3 separate regions of the Homo sapiens genome follow, and all the other regions are linked to region 1. Evidence: promoter capture Hi-C in 16 types of primary human blood cells and fetal thymus (Javierre and others, 2016). All regions are on one chromosome and are shown on one strand. The core of a region is centred on a gene start or on the middle of the fragment in contact, and the rest is flanking DNA. Distances in the headings are between cores, read along the strand shown.

Region 1 (5,087 bases), core at 1,008-3,507:
TTTTATGCTGGAGTAGGCAGACTGGGGGCCCATAATATATACATATACATACATATATATATATATATATATATTTTTTTTTTTTAGATGGAGTTTCACTCTGTCCAGCCCAGGCTGGAGTGCAGTGGTGTGATTTCGGCTCACTGCAGCCTCCACTTCCCAGGTTCAAGCGATTCTCGTACCTCAGCCTCCCGAGTAGCTGAGACTACAGGTGTGCACTACCACGCCCAGCTAATTTTTGTATTTTTAGTAGAGACGGGGTTTCACCATGTTGTCCAGGCTGGTCTCGAACTCCTGGCCTCAAGTGATCCATCTGCCTTGGCCTCCCAAAGTGCTGGGGATCCTCCTACCTCAGCCTTCCGAGTAGTTGGGACTACAGGCATGAGCTATCAAGCCGGGCTAATTTTTTTTTATTTTTAGTTGAGATTAGGTCTTGTAATGTTGCCCAGGCTGGTATCAAACTCCTGAGCTCAAGAAAACCTCCTGCCTTGGCCTCTTAAAGTGCTGAGATTACAGGCATGAGCCACCACCTGGCCAAATTAACCATCTTAATCATCTTTTTAAAAAAGAGATGGGGTCTCACTATGTTGCCCAGGCTGGAGTCCTACTCCTAGCCTCAAGTGATCCTCCTGCCTCTGCCTTCCGAATACCTGGAACTAGCGGCCTGAGACACCTGGCAGGGCTACCTTAACCTTTTTTAAGTGTAGAGTTCAGTAGTGTTAAGTACATTCATACTATTATGAAACTAAGACTTTGAATTTATCCTCCAGGCAACTGAGATTTATGGAATTACTGAAAGATTTCAGGACCCTACTAGAGGTTTAGGAAGGTTGTCTTGGGGGGTGGGTGTAGTGGGAGGTAGGGGATGGAGGCTAGCAGGACTGGAAGGGATTGTAAGTTTAAAAGCTTGCAGGGGGCCTTGTAAGTAAGGGTTGGTTTTGGCTTGGTCACAGGGTTTTCTGCCAGAGGGGAAGTTAGAGAAGGGAACTCAACACACCACTGGCTGAGTACCAAGCCTGTATGGGCCAGATGCTTTCCGAGGGCTGCACACTTGAGCTAGCCAGCCACACCTTGCCAGGATGTGCTCTGTTAACCCCTACAGTTAAAAAAAATGGGGGAGGCGGGTTTGGATTAGTTGCAAAAATGGAAACATTTGGAGATCTCACTTTTTTTTTTTTGACGCAGTTTCACTCTTGTTGGCCAGGCAATGGCGCGATCTCGGCTCACTGCAACTTCCGCCTCCTGAGCTCAGATTCTCGTGCCTCAGCCTCCCGAGTAGCTGGGATTACAGGCACCCACCCGGCTAATTTTTTGTATGTTTAGTAGAGACGGGGTTTCACTATGTTGGCCAGGCTGGTCTCGAACTCCTGAGCTCAGGCGATCCGCCCGCCTCAGCCTCCCAAAGTGCTGGGATTACAGGCGTGAGCCACCGCGCCCGGCCAACGCCCTGCTAATTTTATCATTTTCTTGTAAAGACGGGGTCTGGCTGTGTGGCCCAGGCTAGTCTCCAATTCCTGGCTTCAGTTGATTCCCCTGCCTCAGCCTCTTAAAGTGCTGGGATTACAGGTGTGAGCCAACGAGTTCGGTCTCACTCTATTTTAAAAAAACCTTTTAATCAATATATAACAGACATATAGAAAAGGACACAAATAAGCGTAGAGCTTAGTGAATGTTCACAAAGCAACAACACCTGAGATGAACCAGCATCCACATCAACAAGCAGAACGTCGCTAGCATCTCTGGAGTGATGCTCATTTAGCCCTATGAAACCTCATGAAGCCGACCGTTTTATCACCCCCATATTACGCATGAGGAAACAAGCGTGGAGAGGTCGGTCTCAAGCAAAGCCCTGTTGAAACCGGCATTTGAATCAGATCCGCTGACTGACTCCAAAGCCAATGCTCTCAAAAAGCAGGTTTGGGGGTTAGACGGTGAGTTCAGCTTTGAACGATGTTGAGTGGGCGTCTCGTTTTACAGAAACTTACTTCCCGACGTCACAGCCACAGAAACCACAGGTAACCAGACGCCTGCACGTCAGGCCACCGACGCCTTGGTCTACACAGCGCAGCCTCCAGTGAGCCCGCGGCATGCCGCGCGGCCTCCCCACACACGATGGCGATGTCGCAACCACAGTAGAAAGAGTGGCGCTCTCTACTGTCCCGGAATTCTTGAGGCCGGAAGAATAACAGGGCAAAGGTCACGTAGACGGCGCGCCCCGCCCCCGTACGCCTAAGTTCTCGCGCGACTCCCACTTCCGCCCTTTTGGCTCTCTGACCAGCACCATGGCGGTTGGCAAGAACAAGCGCCTTACGAAAGGCGGCAAAAAGGGAGCCAAGAAGAAAGTGTAAGTCGCGACTGTCGTGGCGTCTTGCTTTTTGGGGGTCTGCTGGAATCGGCGGGCTGGTCCTAGATCGCGGCGTAGGCCGGATGGCGAGGATTCCAGTCGGATTGTGCGGGCCGTGGCGGGTTGGTGCACCCAGGAACGCGGCCTGGAGGGTCGGTGTTGAGTAGCGGCAGGTCGGCTGCCTTTCCCAGGCCTTCTGGTCCTTGCGCGCGTCGCGTTTGAGCCGGCTTGCCGGCGCGACTCGGCTGGAATGTTAGTTTTGTGGGCTCACGAGCTGCCTCAATTCTGCGAGTGTTTGATGGCACTGCGACAGCAGGAGTTGAGGAAAGCACCCTTCTATCCATTCAGGACCCGTCAATCTCGCCTTTGCTTGGTCCCGCTGGAATCTGCGAGCTCCTGCTAAGCTTTGGGGCCATGCAGTCTCTTAGTTACCAGTACATGCCATTACGTGCCAGCAAAGTTAATGAGATTGCATGTTACTCGTGCCTGTGTAGTGGAAGGACCGATGCATGTTATTCTAAGTGCCTGTGTAGTGGATGGACCGATGAGGGTGGGAAGTGGACATAACCTTTCAAAGTCTGATGCATGCAGTGAAACGTACAGTGGGAAGAGCTAGATTTATGTTTGTTCCCCTCACCTCACTGTGAGATATACTTTGGTATCAAATTGCCGGTTAGCTTTTTAAAATATTAATGGGAAATACCATTAACAGTGAAAAATACAGTAAGAATTGATCTGCAATGGAACTTAAGCATCTTCTTAAAATCCAGGGTTGATCCATTTTCTAAGAAAGATTGGTATGATGTGAAAGCACCTGCTATGTTCAATATAAGAAATATTGGAAAGACGCTCGTCACCAGGACCCAAGGAACCAGTAAGTAGCTTATTCTTGGTTTGTATTTTCCTTAAGTTGGCGCTTGTATATTGTAGCAGGCATCTTGGTCTGTTGTTGGTCCTGTGGTGGGAGACTTTAAGGAAATGTCAGCTCTTGGTTGCAGCCTTGGCACCTGTGGTGATCATTTTTAGTACAGCACTTGGAGAGAAGCAAGATGGTGCTTTTTGAATTAAGAAAATGTGCCATGGGTAGTTCTGAGCTTCAAATAAGTACTGTTGATAAGTCACTGGTGTCTGGATAGATTTGATAACAAAGGTTAAGGTCTTTATAATTTACCATTAACTTAATTTCTACCCTCAGTTTACAGGCTTGACTTTGCTTATATGGTTCCTAAATGTTAAGATACTTGTTTTTTTCTTTTGTAGAAATTGCATCTGATGGTCTCAAGGGTCGTGTGTTTGAAGTGAGTCTTGCTGATTTGCAGAATGATGAAGTTGCATTTAGAAAATTCAAGCTGATTACTGAAGATGTTCAGGGTAAAAACTGCCTGACTAACTTCCATGGCATGGATCTTACCCGTGACAAAATGTGTTCCATGGTCAAAAAATGGCAGGTGAGACCCAAAGTTCCTTAGAGTGGTTGTGCTATGGGTGTTTGACCAAGGATAGCATGGTTTGATGACTGGAAGGAGCAAGTTCATTTTATTTATTTATTGAGACCAGTGAAATGTCCACAAAGTTCATTTTAAATTTTTGTTTTCTTGCCGTTGTTGAGTGCTAACTCTGGGGTTGCCACACCATATTTTACTTACTATTTAAATCTAAGATTTAATAGTGGTGTATCATCAAAGTCAGATTTTCTTGCTGCATAGATTAGTGGTTTTTTGAGGAACGTTTAGGTGCAGGTGGGCGGTTTTGCCTGTCTTAAGGATGTTTTTTGACCTCAGAATTGAGTGAATGTTGATTAACTGTGGCAGTAGAGCATAATTGTGGCAGAGCCTCTGGAGTGAGGTTAAAATCTGGGCTCCATTTGCCTATTGTGTTCTCGTTGGAAAGTAACTTGTTTTCTAAGCCTCGGTTTCTTTATTTGTAAAGTGCAGATAAGAGTGTCATTTTATTGAATTGTGAGGATGAAATGAAAATATTTCAGATGTGTCTGGCTAACTATCCAGTTGGAATATTTTGTGGGAGTTTTTTGTTTTTGGGAGATTGAGTCTCTTATCGTCCGGGCTGGAGTGCAGTGGCGCCATCTCTGCTCACTGCAACCTCCTCCTCCTGGGTTCAAGGGATTCTCATGCCTCAGCCTCCCAAGTAGCTGGGATTACAGGCACCCGCCACCACGCCCAGCTAATTTTTGTATTTTTAGTAGAGACAGGGTTTCACCATATTGGCCAGGCTGGTCTCGAACTCCTGACTTCAAGTGATCTGCCCGCCTCAGCCTCTCAAAGTGCTGGGATTACAGGTGTGAGCCACTGCACCTGGCACAGTTCGAATATTTTGTATGTGGGAATGAATGATGACAAAATGTTTCAGTCCCAAATGATACATACTGATTATACCATTATATTTATCCTGACATTCCTCTAAGGCTTTATGGTTTACATTTCTAGAAATATTTTAAGGTCCCTTAGCTGTAAATTGTATTTGATTAGTTTTTTTTTATACTAAGGTATAAAATTTACAAAATGCAAACAAGGTAAATCAGTTTTCATCACTACCCAAGATGTTTTTTGTTTTTTCAATTTAGGCAATAATATGACCACTAACTAGGGGTTTTTAATTATATTTTAGCTCTGAAATTGGGTATTTAATCATCAGCATGGCTTTAGTTTGGAACATAAAAGACGTCTTTCAAAGTGTGCATTTAGAGTTATAGCAGTCACCTATTTACAACACAGTTTTTTGAAAA
Region 2 (5,087 bases), core at 1,867-4,366, 4.3 Mb after region 1:
GTCAGGAAGAAAGGAGCAGTTCCCCAATACATGCCTGAAATAAAGTTTTGTCTGACGTTACCACTGGTATCTAATATGCAAAGTATGAAATATTTACCAGCACTGTATTTACTGATGATATGCAAGGAGATTTTTATGAAGGTTAACATCAACTAATAATTCCTTTATAAAATACAAAGAATGAAAAACAAAAAATCCTTAACCTTGCATATACAAGTTCATGAATGGTGGCCCAGGGTATGTGACAGGACTTGGTCTCCGTTTCATTCTATCTTTGTTCCTTTATGCTTAAAATTCAGTAAAATTGTGGGCAGAACTAACTGTAATCCCAGATCACACCAGGAACTTTCCTTTGGAAAACTGAATCTTAGTAGATTTTCATAGGCAATACAGAGATCAAATGGAGATTCTCTTAAGGAGTGCCTGGATGCTTCAACAAACAACAGCAGCAATAACATAACTCATCCTTCAAATATACAAATGTCAAGAAAATTTTCTGGCACAATGTTGGTATGGCAAAGACTGTTAGAAGGATTAGTCTCAATATTGCTGTAACTCTAATCTTTGGAGTGTGAGAGGGATTAGACAGCATTCCATTCCAGTTCCACACCTACAAACAAAACTGAAGCTCACAGGTCTAGGTGTCTGGAGATCCACAGCTATGGATGCTATGGATGACTAAAGGTGCTTTGGCTTTGTGCTTTGGCTTTCTATCAGGCAACAGCCTAGATGCAAGACAAAATACAACAGGTCTGTAAAATTGAAGTTAGACAAAATACAACAGGTCTGTAAAATTGAAGTTAGACAAAATACAACAGGTCTGTAAAATGGAAGTTAAGTCTGTCTTTTTTTCTTAAATATATACTAGCTACCATATAAAAATTTTGGGACTGATTATCTTAAAATAAACTTCCAAGAAATGCAATTACAGTAATCCTAACAAATTACCTGAAGATGTGCTTTTAATTGAAAGAATTCTGGGTTTAGGTTTCATTTTTATTTTGTCTTTTTCAAATTCCTCATCCTTATTTTGAGATTCAGAGAAAGATTTTACAACAATGTCTTCACACCCATCAGGTGCCATTTCCTCTTCATTTTTGATGGCACACACTGGCTCATCTTTGGTTATGTTACCGTTTGATTTATTGGTTTTCAAAAACAATAGTTTTGAAGGATTCTTTTCTTCATCATCTGATATATGAAAGTCATTCATTTTTTTATTAACTGAATTTTCATCTGCTGAAGTGTCAGAAAAATCACCTAAAGAAACTGAAAAATGGAAAAGAAAAATGTTTTCAACAGTATTTTTAAAAATTGTCAAGGTTACGTTAACTTAATCAAAGTTTACCTTAAAAGCTACAAACAAAATTCTAACAATGAATAGGCACAAATGTATTTTATAAATAGACTTGCAGCTCTAAAAACACAGCTAACTCAGGCACGTCTCATTAACATTTATGAAATAAAAATTCCAATTTCATTAATTTATTCAAAATGTATTTATTGTGTTGTCTGTAGGGTACCAAACAACCAAACACTGTTTGCTCTGGAAAAAGCCATCCAAAGGTCCCTAACAATCAGTCATGTAGCATTTAAATTAGATTATGGACTGTAAAACTTTTATTTGCAAATTACTTCTTCATGTAAAATCAAGAACATTTGTAAATGGAAGAATTTAATTAGTAATTACTAATTATATTTTTTCCATAAAAATTTTGGAACTACAATTCCATCCACACCAGAATATTAGATTTACTAAGAATCATAAGAAATGCTAAGTTAACTATACAGCAGTGATTTAACTGTGGTTATTACTGGTTTTACAGAAATCAATTACAATTATTCACCAAATTTTAAAGAATAAAACACCAGGCCGGGTGCGGTGGCTCACACCTATAATCCCAGCACTTTGGGAGGCTGAGGCGGGCGGATCACAAGGTCAGGAGTTCGAGACCAGCCTGGCCGATGTGGTGAAACCCCATCTCTACTAAAAATACAAAAATTAGCCGGGCATGGTGGCGGGCACCTGTAGTCCCAGCTACTCAGGAGGCTGAAGGAGGAGAATCACTTGAACCTGGGAGGTGGAGGTTGCAGTGAGCCGAGATTGCACCACTGCACTCCAGCTTGAGCAACTGAGCGAGACTCCATCTCAAAAACAAAAACAAACAAACAAAAACACCAAGTTTAGAATTCTGTATGCTTATACCTGAAACTAAAATGTTAATATGTTTACATAGCTAAGAGAAACCAAATTATAATAGTACTGATATATGAAACACGAAGAGTCTGTGGTTTTTAAATTTACCCCTTATCACAGCCAAAAAAAATCTGATTTATAGCAAGCTTTATAAAAGCACTTCTAATGTGCACCGAAGTTTAGTTCTGTGGGACTAGTTACTAACTAGCTGTAGCACCTCCTAGGGTTGATCTTAAAGATGAACCTGTCTTCTTCAATGTGGTTTACCACTGGCAGCCATCCTTTTACTGCAAACCTGCCATCAATTAATTTATATTTTCGTATACACATTCAGAAAACAAAACAACAATAAAAAAAGAAAATCATACAACTTCCTGAAAATTAAGAGTGGCTTTCTACTAATTAAAAAGTTGAAAATCTAAAATTAGTGAATGCTTAGGTATTATTTTAACATACGTGATTGAGGGGATGGGTGGTTGGGGGGCTGGCTAAATACAAAACTAAGGAAGCAAAAAGAAGAAAAGTGGTTCACGTTTCCATACTGTCACATACCAATCTCATCACTGTCAAAGTCATCTGAGTATTCAGAACTCCTTTGTCTGGCTGAGCGAGCTGTAATTGCTCTTATTAGCTCATCCTGAAATGAGATACTGAAATCAATTTCCATCCAAACATGGAGGTATCATATTCACAAGTAATTCTTTAAACAAACAATGCTTGATTAACGACTGCTTTCAAACTTAGGTTTCATTCATCTAACAAATATTTCCTGCAAGCTCACTTTATGCCATGTACCCACTTTACGCCTCATACTCAATGCAGAGCATCACAGACAAGAGCCCTTCCTCATGGAGCTCGCAGTTTAACTAGAGGAGACACACATTATGGAACAAATTAATTGCAGGTTATAATTAGAGCTGGAGGGTAACAAATAAGAAGGGGCTCAATTTAGATTATAATTTATTAAAAACTGGTATTTTGAAAGAAATTGGTATTTTTAAGAGCTTTTGTCTCGGCATATTTCAGAAATGGATGCAATCAATATTGCAAACTTAGAGGCTGAGTTCAAAATTGCAGTGACTCAACAGAAAAAAAAACTTAAACATTATGTTACAACAGAAAAAAAAGTTTTTATATAAAAATGGCAATTTAAGGTTGCGATTCAACTTTTAACTTAGTAGGAAACTAGTATTGAGGCTACTTTGGTAGTCTTAAAACCATATAGGGGAGTTTGTAATACTGGATGGAGCCCAAACATGATCATGTGCAAAACCTCAAAAGTAATATAAGATTTACCCCTGCTTTATATAGGACTGTTCTAGAATCACCAATTTCAACCCATCTAATACAGTGTTTACACTGTGAAATGATTCCAAATAAAAATACTTTACCTGGAAAGTAGTTCTTTTGGTAACTTTTGGACTCTTTGTATATGCCAAAGTGGTGCTAAAAACTTCATCAGACATAGTGTATTTTTTCTCGTTACCTTTATAAAATAGCTAATTATTAGAATTCAACTTCTGATAGTAGCTGAAATATACAAAACAAATCAGACTTCGCATGCTTCAGAATTTATTTTATTACATTTGATTCTACTCTCCCCACAAAGGTCAAAGAAAAGCATCTGATATGAACATTGGGCTACATCTTCACTTAAAAAGGTTCTTGTAAAGAAATAGCAAATTCTCATAACAAGCTTGTTTAAAAAAATTCAAATGGAAGTTATCCTAAAATAGTTTTGCAACTACTTAAAAAGTCTGCAAATAAATGATTACAAGTTAATACGACAAAATGCTGCCAATTAAAATAGAACACCTTATTTTTCACCTCTCTTCTAAAGTATAACATTGCCTTCAAAATAAGTCACGTCTTATTTAAAAGGCCATCAAAAGGATCGTCGGCGTAAAAATTATGAGCACCACCACCAAAAAAAAAATGTATCTATATATTTGCATACAGCGCTATTCAAAGAAAAAGATCGTAATGCTAACCCGCAAACAGCCAGCGAGATGTATTGCAAGCCAATTTTTCCTCTCACAAAAGTGTTAAAGAGAGCCAGACAAAACGACGAAGCTTTCGCGATGAGCCGCATTAAAATCGCGGTTTCCCGTACTCGGAGCAGAGGCCTGGCAGGGCCGCCCATAGCGTTGTGCGCCCCGGGTTCCGTTCCCTACCAGGCCAGGTGACGTCCGGGTGCTCGCCGCTCCTCACCGCGCCGTATGCTGAGCACCAGCGAACGCCAGGCCCGTGCACGTCCAAGCGCGGTCTCTGTCCGGATCCCCCATGGCCCCCAGGTCCCGCTTTCTGTTCCCGGCCCCGGACGCCCGCGGCCAGTTCTCCGCGACCCTGAGAATCAAGAGCCAAGCATCGGGTAGGAGCTGCTCACCTTGGTCTGGGCCTGGCGGCGCCCGCAGAGCCGGTCCTGGACCGAGCGAGGAGGAGGGGCTAATAACAGAGGCGGAGGGCGGTTGCTAGGAAACAGCGTCTTCGGGAGGAAGTGACTTCCCCACCGCCGGGTCTCTCGGGTACCCAACACCGCTCTTCGGCCCAACGTGTCGCTGGGGCAACCACCCAGACGAAGGAAGTGACATCACCTTCCTGGGTCTTTGGAGAGGGGCTCATTATTGGTCGCTTGTGTGCATGTGCTGTTGCCTAGGAGACAGGACCCGCCCAACTCCCACCCAGATAGCCTTACTCTTGCCAATAGAGTAAGGGTCCTTATCTGCACGTGTTGCAAATAAAGCACATTCGTCGTTTTGCCACAGTTAGGACGTGAAGTTCTCTGAATCGAAGTACGGTGTCAGTGGATGGGACAGAATAGTACGGTAGTGAGTTTGCAGAACCCTGTTTCCGACTGCAGGTTTGAATCCTGGTACCCCTTTCCTACACA
Region 3 (5,087 bases), core at 1,419-3,918, 3.5 Mb before region 1:
AGATGTGTAACAAACAACCCTAAACTCACTGAAGTAAAACGACAATCATTACCCTCATGAATTCTTCAGGTCAGGACTTAGGACAAGGCAGAGCAGGCATTGTATGTCTCTGGCCATGATGAGGGCCTCGGCTGGGATGACCCAAATGGCTGAGCGGCGAGAATGGCTAGGAGCTGGAATCAGCTTCTCAGCTCACGTGACTGGCACCTAGGCTGGGCTGACTCAAAGCCTGGGCTCAGCTGTGACTGTTGATCAGTATTACCTTCAAAGGGTCTCTCTGTCTGTCTTGGGCTTTCTCACAAAATGCCAGCCTCAGGCAGTGGAACTTCTCACAGGAAGGCTGGGAGTTCCAAAAGGTAAATGTTCCAGCAGACAAGGTGGTACTGCATGGTCTTTTATGACCTAGCCTCAGAAGTCACATATGGTGACTGTGACCATTTTCACCAACTTCTATTGGTTAAAATCAATCACAAGCCCACATACATGTAAAGAGAGGGAACACAGACTCTATTTTGTTATCAGATGAGTATCAAAGAAGTTGCAGCCAGGTTTTAAAACTACCATGGACATATTTATAGAGAAATGGAGATACATGGCAAAGGGTTAACAGTGTCCATCCCCCAGGATCCCTCAAAGTGCATTTAATCTATTATCTTAATTCAGATTAATCCAAACTTATCCTTCAATAATAGCAAATTCCACCTATTTGCATGTGATGCAGCAGTAACAAACTTCAATTAACCTCTATAACTTGCATCAAAATTGACTAATAGCTTGTTTTTGACCCTAGCACCATCTGCCAATTTTAACCATTTCTTATTTTTCAAACACCATCAAGCTCAGATCCACCTTCAGGCTTAGGCTCTCATATCCAGAAAGAATGCAGAGAATGCCTATAGCAAGCAAAGCAAGTAGATTAGGATCACATCAGCATTATGGCCTATTCCCTATCCTTACTAGACTTTAGGATCTTACAGGTCAAGAGAAAAAAATGAAACAAATGGTAGGCAAATAAAGCTATCAACTTTTTATTCTCCAAAGTAAAAATATCTGAAGAACAACTACTATCTATTATCATATTAAAAAATAGGATAGACAATTTCAAAATAAAACATGGTCCTTAAGAGTGAAGAAATTTAACTAAATGAAAAATTCATATATCTCATCTGAAATGCTTTGGACCAGAAGTGTTCTGGATTTCAGATTTTTTCAGATTGGGGAACATTTGCATTATACATACCAGTTGAGCATCTCAAATCTGAAAATCCAAAATCTGAAGTGTTTCAAGGAGCATTTCCTTTGAGCATCATATAAGTACTCAAAAAGTTTTGGATTTGGGAGCATTCTGAATTTCAGATTTTCAGATTTGGCATACTCAATCTGTAATTTTGTTTTTAATTTCTCTGCTGAGCTGAAGAAATTTCACCATAGAAGAATTCCAGTTCGCAAACTGGTATGTGAAATCATTTGTGCATCTGTCTCATCTCTTCTCTCTTTTGCTTTTTTCTAATGGATTTAGATTTTTGCTTTAGGAATTCAAAATCTAAACAAGACAAATAAGTAAATGAGTATAATACCATATAAATGCTGTAAGAATACATGGGGAAACAAAAATAAAGGAAGGTCTCACAAATTAGGCAAAAAAAGTTTGCCCATGAGAAAGAATGGGAAAGATTATAGGCAGCAAAAACGCTGTAGCTGAAAGCACAGAGACAATCTACGCATACGGCATATCCAAGATAGCCTCTACTGTGTACCAAACAAGTAAAGAGTAGTTATACTTGGCCGTAGAGTAAAATTAACTTTCTCTTCATTATTCTTCTTTTTTATGAACTTTAACAACAGAGCAAGCATTAATTTAATGATCAGGAATTTTTTTTAATTAATTTTATTTATTTATTTATTTATTTATTTTTTGAGACAGAGTCTCGCTCTGTCGCCCAGGCTGGAGTGCAGTGGCTTGATCTCGGCTCACTGCAAGCTCCGCCTCCCGGGTTCACGCCATTCTCCTGCCTCAGCCTCCTGAGTACCTGGGACTACAGGCTCCCGCCACCACAACTGGCTAATTTTTTGTATTTTTGGTAGAGACGGAGTTTCACTGTGTTAGCCAGGATAGTCTCGATTTCCTGACCTCATGATCCGCCCACCTCCGCCTCCCAAACTGCTGGGATTACAGGCATGAGCCCCTGCACCCAGCCTTAATTTCCATTTTTAAAGTAAGCTTAGGAAGAACAAACATAAGGCCTATTTTTCCGGTAGAAAGTAGTTTGGGTCAGGTTGTAAAATACAAATGTTAACAACTGAGAAGTAGGCAGTGAAGTCAAGTCCAAACAGACGATACCAAAAAAGGGGCTCATAATATTCCTTAGGTGTCTCTGTGAGACTCCTGGGCTAGGTGTACTCAATGTTACAAGCCTCCTTATCCGTATGGTCATTAGGCGGAAATTCCCCAGGTGGCAGGTACTAGCAGGTCAAATGCTTAAATATAATGCCCTTTGGAGTCACAAAGACCAAGGTTGCTATCTCCACACTACCACTTAACTAGCTCAGTGAGCCTGGGCAAATTTATCAGCCACTTGACTTTTTTATCTGTAAAGTGGAAAAATGCCTACCTCTCAAAATTTTTGTGCAGAACAACTTACATAATGTAGGTAATGAACTTAGTACAGTGCCTGTCCCCCTGAAAATTACAATTACAATATAAAACGCATTTGTATATGTAATTGAGTAGTAGATATTTGTTTACTCTATTGGTTTAGCTAAAGGCTTTAAGCATATGAAACTCCTTTGTCAGATGGAATGTCAACTTTTTAAAACTTAAATGAGTGCAAATTTTTAACACAAGTTCCAAATGTAGAAGGGACATTCCCTATTTGCGGTTAATTCTAAAATGAAGCTACCTTTAGAATGATCCTTCTGTAGGATCCAGAAATAACCAAGCGGCCTAGCCCCTAGATTCTAGCAACTGACAGAAAACTAGGTGGAGGTTTCCCATTCTTCCTTGTCTTCTTACTCCAGCGGGCTTCTGTATCCACTCTAGATTGAATAGGGGATGTTTTGTGTAGAGATGGGCCTTCTCTCTTCCAGTCCAACTCTGAAGTAACCGCCCCTTACCCAAGCTTTCTTTAAACTGGAATAACGCCAGCAGAAGAATGTAGTAGGTGTGCTTCAAGTGTCCTCAAATAATTCCCGCAGCTTCCAGAATCCTTGCAATAGCCCGCTGGACCATCTGCGGCAATTCCACCCACTTCCACGCACCTGCTCTTCTTTCTAACCCCAGTACGCAATCCTGCAGCCCCGCCCCCACAGCTGACCAATCAGAGGGCGCAAAGTGAGTCGGATGGGGCGGGCCCAGTTTGGCGCTGACGACGAATCACCTGCCTCAGACAGCAGGGGCGGAAGCGGAAAAGAGCTGAAAGTCTTGGTTTGGCCTTGGGTTCCGCTGTAGGGGAGGTCCCGTGCGAAAGAATGAGGAGATCCTGGGGCCTTACCTACTAGCGGAATCGACTGAAGAGACGCCTGCCAGTGCGGGAGGTAGGAAGCTCGATCCCCAAAGAAAAGAGCGAGTGGGCAGGCAGCTGCGAGACAGAACCGGAGTGTGCAGGGTCCCTAGAGGCCGGTTCCTGGTCTGTGCTGCTCTCCTGGAAGCCATGGTACAGGCAGAGCTCAGGGCGATCCCCAGGTGAGGGCAGCGGCTCTGCCTGGGATTCCACCGCAGTACAACCGGGTAGATGCGGGGTGGAGAAGAAAGGATGTTGCCTGCACTGCTCGCCAATAGCACCCTGAGAGGCTACATTTGCAGAAGCAGCAGCAGCAGAAGACACAGCGCCGGTCCAGGAGGCGGCTCGAGCTGTTCGTAAAGTCGCCCGACAGCTTTTTCTCCGTAGTATGCGAGTTGACAAAACAGCCAGAGAACAGGGCTCCCCATTACAATCTTTTCGAGATCTTTTCCCTTGCTAACCGGATCTGATTTGTGCGAAAACATGCCTTGCACTTGTACCTGGAGGAACTGGAGACAGTGGATTCGACCTTTAGTAGCGGTCATCTACCTGGTGTCAATAGTGGTTGCGGTTCCCCTATGCGTGTGGGAATTACAGAAACTGGAGGTAAGAGGGTTCTGCACCATCAGCCTGTACACTTTCTTCTACCCATCTATGGTTGGGAAAGAGACACCCTTACCCCATTTCTGCCCTGACAGTCCTGAAAACCATCTAATGTAAACGAGCCTACTCTTAGGATATAAACCTGTCTAATTTCTTGTTCACGGTTCTTCAAGTCATGCTACAGGTGGAGGTGGGACCGGGTCGAGAAAATAGAATATATTAATATAGCTGCTTAGAAGGGCACTGTTTTGCAAGTATTCATCAGTTCCCTGAAAGTAAGGTAATTTTATTGCTGAAATCTGATCTGTTCAGACATTGGACGAAACTAGGTCAAATAAACTACCTTGAAAACCATGTATTGAATTTTATTAGCTTTTAACTAGCTTCTTGAATCAAAGCGTTCTAGTTGTTTTAACTTTGGTGTCTGTTTTTACTGTGGAAATTAGCTCTTACCCAACAAAGGTTTTGCAAAAAGTCCCTTATATATATTTTTTGATGTCATATGCTTATTGTGACATCAGTAATGTACTACAAGCTGGAAAACCCCAAGGTAAATAACTCAGATATAAATATTATATAATGAACTTTAAATTCGGAGTTAATAAAACCCACCAAGTACTTTTACAGAGGAACACCTATTACAAGAACTATAATAAGACCATGACTATTTTAGGCCCTTCTTTATTGTGGAAATGATTTTTACATAAACTGTATTTAATATACATTTGTGTTCTCTATTTACACTAAATTATTTTCTGATGACTTTCCCATACTAGCATAGTCCATATAGTTTTTTGTTTGTTTGTTTATGAGACGGAGTTTTGCTCCTGTTGCCCAGGCTGGAGTGCAATGGCGAGATCTCGGCTCACCGCAACCTCCGCCTCCTGGGTTCAAGCGATTCTCCTGCCTCAGCCTCCCGAGTAGCTGAGATTACAGGCATGCGCCATCACGCCCGGCTAATTTTGTATTTTTAGTAGCGACGGG

Evidence for each region. The method cuts DNA at HindIII sites, captures the fragments that hold promoters and counts their contacts. A CHiCAGO score of 5 or more calls a contact.
Region 2: a fragment that was not itself captured here is called in contact with the fragment with the promoter of RPS3A in region 1 in 4 of 17 cell types (total B cells, non-activated CD4 T cells, total CD8 T cells and 1 more); the score reaches 6.4 in total B cells.
Region 3: a contact is called between a fragment that was not itself captured here and the fragment with the promoter of RPS3A in region 1, in 1 of 17 cell types (total B cells). The highest score is 7.3, in total B cells.

What each region holds. Positions count from the first base shown.
Region 1 is chr4:151,097,371-151,102,457 of GRCh38, forward strand. RPS3A (ribosomal protein S3A) reads left to right here and starts at 2,258. Exons shown (of 6, transcript NM_001006.5): 1 at 2,258-2,344; 2 at 3,115-3,218; 3 at 3,605-3,792. The coding sequence starts at 2,283. It overlaps SNORD73B (small nucleolar RNA, C/D box U73B), which reads left to right and starts at 4,687; the gene lies at 4,687-4,761. RefSeq lists enhancers at 1,168-1,237, 1,515-2,714, 2,013-2,597, 2,018-2,577, 2,598-3,181. The HindIII fragment of the contact is 1,842 bases long and covers 905-2,746 here.
Region 2 is chr4:155,372,188-155,377,274 of GRCh38, forward strand. It overlaps MAP9 (microtubule associated protein 9), which reads right to left and starts at 4,778. Exons shown (of 14, transcript NM_001039580.2): 1 at 4,584-4,778; 2 at 3,589-3,727; 3 at 2,750-2,834; 4 at 949-1,269. The coding sequence starts at 3,663. RefSeq lists an enhancer at 4,231-4,660. The HindIII fragment of the contact is 1,550 bases long and covers 2,342-3,891 here.
Region 3 is chr4:147,613,974-147,619,060 of GRCh38, forward strand. It overlaps TMEM184C (transmembrane protein 184C), which reads left to right and starts at 3,424. Exons shown (of 10, transcript NM_018241.3): 1 at 3,424-4,106. The coding sequence starts at 3,984. TMEM184C-DT (TMEM184C divergent transcript) reads right to left here and starts at 3,272. Exons shown (of 2, transcript NR_186679.1): 1 at 3,115-3,272. RefSeq lists enhancers at 3,644-3,763, 3,794-3,843. The HindIII fragment of the contact is 898 bases long and covers 2,220-3,117 here.